2 separate regions of the Homo sapiens genome follow, and region 1 is linked to region 2. Evidence: promoter capture Hi-C in 16 types of primary human blood cells and fetal thymus (Javierre and others, 2016). All regions are on one chromosome and are shown on one strand. The core of a region is centred on a gene start or on the middle of the fragment in contact, and the rest is flanking DNA. Distances in the headings are between cores, read along the strand shown. Region 1 overlaps TNIK (TRAF2 and NCK interacting kinase). Region 2 holds the start of ACTRT3 (actin related protein T3).

The links. Contacts are between HindIII fragments. The CHiCAGO score rates a contact against its expected background, and 5 or more counts as called.
Region 1: a contact is called between a fragment that was not itself captured here and the fragment with the promoter of ACTRT3 in region 2, in 1 of 17 cell types (total CD4 T cells). The highest score is 5.4, in total CD4 T cells.

What each region holds. Positions count from the first base shown.
Region 1 is chr3:171,247,346-171,250,927 of GRCh38, forward strand. The region is part of intron 2 of TNIK (TRAF2 and NCK interacting kinase); the gene reads right to left. Among named protein-coding and RNA genes, the nearest start is that of MIR569, 140 kb to the left of the region's middle. The HindIII fragment of the contact is 2,145 bases long and covers 725-2,869 here.
Region 2 is chr3:169,768,213-169,771,687 of GRCh38, forward strand. ACTRT3 (actin related protein T3) reads right to left here and starts at 1,349. Exons shown (of 2, transcript NM_032487.5): 1 at 1,109-1,349; 2 at 1-138. The coding sequence starts at 1,308. RefSeq lists enhancers at 72-216, 1,078-1,337, 1,429-1,573, cis regulatory regions at 144, 1,501 and a silencer at 1,418-1,487. The HindIII fragment of the contact is 4,942 bases long and covers 1-3,475 here.

The sequences.
Region 1 (3,582 bases), core at 547-3,046, 1.5 Mb after region 2:
AAGTAGAATCAACAGGACATGTAGATGGTGTTTTGGAGAATTGAAAGAGAAACAGAAGTCCTCCAGGAAGATAACATCTCTGGCTTGTACAATCTAGGTGGGTAAGAGTGCCATTCTTTGAGACAGAAGACTCGGGAAAACATGAAGAAGGCAGGAAGTGACTTCAGTCAAGGACATAACAAGGTTTTCGGGGGCCGGGTAGACATCCAGACAGATGTGTCCATTAGTCCAGTGGAGAAGACTGGGCTTCAGGAGGTCAAGTCAGTCTACAGAGACAGAAGGACTTGCAATGAACCCCAAGAAAAAACAACCAGCGGGTGGGAAAAAAGAAAGCAGCAATATGACTGCAAATCAAGGAAAGAGAAAGTTTCAGGAAGGAGGATGTGATGAGTTTCAAAAAGGAGGGTATGGTCAGAGCCAGTGCTACAGAAGACCAAGTGAAATAAAGACTAAAAAGAGCTCATTCAATCTGGCAATTATGAAGCCCCTGGGACCTTACACAGCAATGCAGGGACAGACATCAGTTTGTATAGAGTGAAGGAAAAAATGGGAGGTGACTATGTGGAGGCAAAGAGGGTAGAAAAAAGTTGCTTGGTCTGAAAAGAGATGAAACTAGTCCTGAGGTCTCGCTGAAGATGACTGCAGGCTGGGAGGAAAGGGGCAATTCTGGGCAAGGGAGGAGACAACAGAAACAGCAGGAGGAGTCCTCTCACACAGAGGGAAAAGCTTTACATTGAGTTAGGATGAAAGAAGGTAAGAATGTGGGAAGAAGATGAGTTTGAGAAGAAAGGCAGAGGGAGACCTGTGGGATATTTACCCAATAAGGGATACCTGTCCAATGGCTCCAGTTTTTCTAAAAGGCATAGAAGAAGGTCACCTGTGGAGAACAATGAAGGCAGGGGCAGCGGAAGGGAGGAGAGGAGAGTGGTGGAGATTGGGAGCAACTATTCCAGGGAAAACAGGAGAAGGAACTGAGCAGGTACATACACAGTTGATTATTAAGCAGTGCTGAGTTGAGCTGTGCAGCCCAAATGCAGAAAAATAAACAGCTAGACTGACCTTAGGGAAGGGGTCTGCAAGGTGGATATTATGGAAGAACAAAGGATAAAGGAGATAGTACATGTTGGCTAAAAATGATTAAACTAAGAAATCATGAGGCCCAAGGCTGGAGAGACAAGTTATTAAAGTTTCATGGGGACTGAGAGACTGACAAAAGACCCGAGGGCTTAGTCAACATCAAAGAACAGGTGTGTAGGGTGTGAGGGAGTACAGGCTGGAAGCATCAAAGGCTGTGGTCTAAGATTGGGATGCTGTACATTTAAGATTTTAAAAGCAAAACAGACCTGGGTCATAAAAAGTCCAGGTTGTGAATAATAAGAGTGGGGTGTCATTCCAGGTAATAGCAATATAACTATAGTATCAATATTATACCATTTTACAAGTGAGACAAGGACTAGATGACTTATTCAACATCACAGCTGGTTAATGGCAAGGCTAAAGTTTCAATCCAAGTCTTTGCTGCCAAGTCTTATTGACCTTGTCATACAAAATCATTTTACTTGGTACCTTTTTCTTTCAGCCTTTGAATAAGAAATAATAAAATGGTGATTTTGCTTTCAGACTAGGACGACGTTATAAATGAAAGAAAGCTATCAATCTGACTTAAAATGCAAGTGAAAGTAACGGTTTTATTTTCAGAACTCTGGTTATTACCCATAGTGTAGGAGCTTATGAAATTCTGTTAAAGTGTATCTTTGCATACTGTTTTCTTATTATAGAAACATTAAAAGTAACTAGCTATTGAACATGGCAACAAAAATAGTTAAGAACCACTTTATCTCATAAAACATAAATTTCAGCCTCCAGTGGCATGTCTGCTATTATTTCATAATTCTGGGTCCCACTCCCTATTAAGTCCAAGGCTGTGTCAGGATGATTTAGGAAGATAAAGCAATGTTACACCACATATTTTCAACCCAGGTACCTTTAGGCATACATCCAAATGTGAATATCAGATCTGTACAAATGTAAATGGAGTTGTCATTTTCTTTGATTAAGAATCACTCAGGCTCTCCATCACCATTACTAGACAAGACAGAGTGGCCTGCTGCCAACTTAAGGGGGCTGGAGGGATGGGGCAGTGGTGTGGAAATGGCAAATTAGGGGCCTCCTGCAGTGAGTTACTGCTCACCAGTCCTGGGCAGCCCTTAGGACATTATACATTAAGACACATATTCAAATGGAATGATGGTGGTACACATCAGCATAATTCACCTCAAATAATTCATTACAAAAAGACAAATGAACAAATGTCAAATTTGCTGCCTATGATATTAGCTATTACTGTCTTGTACGATATATATTAAGTGAGGAGCCTGCAGGAAAGCATATACAGTTATTCCATAGCTATTTATTTCATCCACTCTTGAGGCAAGTAGCGTCTTTCCCTGTCAGTTGGAACCAATCCAACCCACCCAACCCAACCTACCTAGACTCCCTAACTGTTCCTAGCTATCCTGGTTTCTTACTGAGCTAGTAACTAATAGTTTGCTTTTACTGTATATCAACTTGTCAGGCTAAGGTTTTACATGATTACTATTTAATCCCCACATTGCCCATGTGAAGTAGGTGCTACTACCACCCCCATTATACTAATGAAGAGAGCAAAGCACAGTCCCAAAGTCAGCCAGCTGGTAAGGCCAAGCTCTTAGCGATGCCTGCATGCTTCTGCCTTTGTTACTCCGCCTTTCAAATTTCACCCAACTTCTGCTCTATAGCTTGATGGCACATGTTCAGGAAGAATTCCCATTTACTTCAGTCCATACTGATTACTCCCTTCTCAGAAGTAGCTCATCCATACCTGGATGGAAGCTTTGCTTTCTGGTAATGCCAGCACCCTCTAATTTTCATGGGACAGGCCTTGGAGAGACTGACCCAGTCTTGTTTGCCTGGGAAAATGGTGTTGATGGATGGACAGCTTCTTTGTGGTAGTGAGATTTGGGTTAAATAGCTCCAGTACCTTAAAAATTCCAAGATGTAACCTAAGCCCTAGTCCCCCAAAATATTCAGAAACAGGGATTCCTAGAAATCTAAATCATGCCCTTTAAAAATTTCGTGTCCAAACCTGATAGACTTAAAAAATTAGAAATGAAGAATATTAGAGACATTCATGTCCACTGATATTAACCCCTTCCATCCTACTTCTCTAAAGCCATGCAGCTAGCTCAGAGAAAAGTAGGAACTCCAACTCCTTCAGCTGTGGGAGGTGGGAACAACACAGGCCCTGTGGTCAGATACCTTCAGTTCTGTCACTCACTGGCTGTGTGACCATGAGGAAATCATTCAGATCTCTTTAGATCTCAGTTTCCACACTAAAATCAGAGAAATGATACTTAAGGCCGTTATAAGAACTAAAATAGCTAATGTGAAAGTTTTGTAAACCATATAGTGCTCTAAAAATGCTACAAACTTCCATTATTATTCTACATTTGGGATTTCTGACTTTCATGACAGAGATTTGTTTTTATCTTGCAATCCTCTGCTGCAACAATTATCAATTGATGGTGTCCCAGACCACTGTCA
Region 2 (3,475 bases), core at 99-2,598:
GCCAGTGGGTTCAGCGCTGGCTCAGTAATCAAGACTGGGCCATCACACGGCTTCAGCTTTAGGTTATAGTCATAGATATGCTTCCACATGATCTCCATGTCCTCCCATGAAGTAATGAGACCACGCTCCACTGGGTAACTGTAAGGAAAGCAATAAGATCAATGACAGCTTTTTATTTTTCTAGTTTCTATTGTCTTCGACCCTCAGTTAATTCCCCGCGTTTATTACCAATATCCCTTTATGGGCAATAACTGCCACAGCCTCTCACAGCAGGTAAGTGTCAGCCAAAAATAGCACAGCTACTTACCTCTGCAATTTTTTTTTTTTTTTTTGGAGACAGAGTCTCGCTCTGTCACCCAGGCTGGAGTGCAGTGGCGCGATCTCAGCTCACTGCAAGCTCCGCCTCCCGGGTTCACGCCATTCTCCTGCCTCAGTCTCCTGAGTAGCTGGGACTACAGGCGCGCGCCACCACGCCCGGCTAATTTTTTTGTATTTTTAGTAGAGACGGGGTTTCACCGTGTTAGCCACGATGGTCTCGAACTCCTGACCTCGTGATCCGCCCTGCTCGGCCTCCCAAAGTGCTAGGATTACAGGCGTGAGCCACCGCGCCCGGCCTACCTCTGCGATTTTTGTTGCTTTCCATTTTCTCTGTCCTTTGGAACCTTGTGACTTTTAAAAAATTGGGAAATGTCCACATTATAGTATAGTTTAAATGTCAATTGAAGAGAATAACCCAAGTGACAAAAGGGACCATGAGTTAATATTCTTAAATGAATTCGTTCGATAACTTTATACGTTTTAATACATTTGTATAGCCACAGAGAGCAAAATGTTCAGTTTTTAGATGTGTGGTACCCTTGGAGATTTGTGGCCCGTGCGTTTGTAGTAATTCCAGCTGGATGGGGCTTTCCAGCTCCCGGCTTTCTTATTCTTTCTGTCCCCATTGCGCACCTCCTTTGGGGTCCTTTCCTGCCCCCCGACAACACCCCCAGTCCCCCCACCCCCAGCCACCCCAGCCCCACCCCCCAACCTCCCCAGCCCCACCCTACCCCACCCCCACCCCACCCACCCTCCCCAGCCCCAGCAGCCTGCTGGGAGAAGGAGGTACCTGATGAACAGCGAGCTCCTCCAGTCCTGAGCTTGGTCGCCCACGCAGAGTTCTAGCCCGCCCTGGGCCGCGCGGCTCTGGCCCTTGGCGCGGCCGATAATGTTCGGGTAGATAAACTGGGGCTCCCGGCACCCAGCCACGCCCGCCTTGATCATTCCCGAGCCGTTGTCGATCACCACCGGTAGCTGGCAGTGGTTCATGCCGCCGCTGCTGCCGCCGCCTCCTGTCTCTGAGCCGCTCTAGCTACGGGCTCGGCCGGGGCCGAGTGCCTGGAACGCCGCGTCACAGAGGCCCCGGCACGGCCGGGTGAGGCCAGAGTCCTGGGGGCGCAGGCAGGGGGTCGGCAGGGCCCCAGGCGGAAGGACTCGCTGGACGCACCGTGCTCCTCATGTTACCGCCCGCTATTGCTTCTCGCAGGAATTGGGCCACCCCAACACCTGGAATCCCGGAATCCCAGTATCAGGAAAACCCGACTTTCGCATCAAAAGATTCAACTCTAACCCTTCACAAGTGCATTTCTCAAATACCCAGAAGAGCTATAACAGCAGTTTTATTTTCCAAAGCCACGGAATTCTGGTTAACTGGTGGCGGTTCCGGGGAGTTCTAGAATTCGCCCTTGAAACTGGGGAAAAATGAGACTTAAGAGGAGAAAGTTGTTGCAGGAAGGGAGGCAGTGTCTGCTTCTGAAATGTTAAACTTCTAAAATAAGGAGAAAAATGCTGGAATTTAAATGAGTTTTAAGTACGTTTATTATTGTTTCTGTACCTTGGGCAATGCTTTGTTGTGTTTCTTCCTGTGATTTCCAAGCAAAATGTACGCAATTAAAACAAAATAGTAGTTCCTAGCTTAAATATGTAAATAAATATAAATTTATATATATTTATATAAATATATATAAATTTAAATATAAAATATTAAAAAATATATAAATTTATATAATTTATATAAATATATGTTATATTATATAAATATATTTATATATTTATAAAATATATATTTATATATTTAAGCAAGGATATAAATCGAAATATATATATTTATATTTATTATATGTATAAATATAAATATATAAAAATTTATATTTATATTTATTATATGTATAAATATAAATATATAAAAATTTATATTTATATATCATAAATATAAATATATAAAAATTTATATTTATATATCATAAATATAAATATATAAAAATTTATATTTATATATCATAAATATAAATATATAAAAATTTATATTTATATATCATAAATATATAAAAATTTATATTTATATATCATAAATATATAAAAATTTATATTTATATATCATATATAAAAATTTATATTTATATATCATATATAAAAATTTATATTTAGATATCATATATAAAAATTTATATTTAGATATCATATATAAAAATTTATATTTAGATATCATATATAAAAATTTATATTTAGATATCATATATAAAAATTTATATTTAGATATCATATATAAAAATTTATATTTAGATATCATAAATAAAAATTTATATTTAGATATCATAAATAAAAATTTATATTTAGATATCATAAATAAAAATTTATATTTAGATATCATAAATAAAAATTTATATTTAGATATCATAAATAAAAATTTATATTTATATATCATAAATATATAAAAATTTATATTTATATATCATAAATATATAAAAATTTATATTTATATATCATAAATATATAAAAATTTATATTTATATATCATAAATATATAAAAATTTATATTTATATATCATAAATATATAAAAATTTATATTTATATATCATAAATATATAAAAATTTATATTTATATATCATAAATATATAAAAAATTATATTTATATATCATAAATATATAAAAAATTATATTTATATATCATAAATATATAAAAAATTATATTTATATATCATAAATATATAAAAAATTATATTTATATATCATAAATATATAAAAAATTATGTTTATATATAATAAATATATAAAAAATTATGTTTATATATAATAAATATAAAAATTTGTTTATATATAATAAATATAAAAATTTATGTTTATATATAATAAATATATAAAAATTTATGTTTATATATAATAAATATATAAAAATTTGTTTATATATAATAAATATATAAAAATTTATGTTTATATATAATAAATATATAAAAATTTATGTTTATATATAATAAATATATAAAAATTTATATTTATATATAATAAATATAAATATATATATTTCGATTTCTATCCTTCTGGTGTAATCTGCAAGCCTCATTCGCTACTCTTGATTTTTAGGCTGAAGGACGTGCCTGTCTTTTTGCAGGAAAAGTGAAGTTTATCAGGTCATATGAAATTCAAGTTTGGAAAAA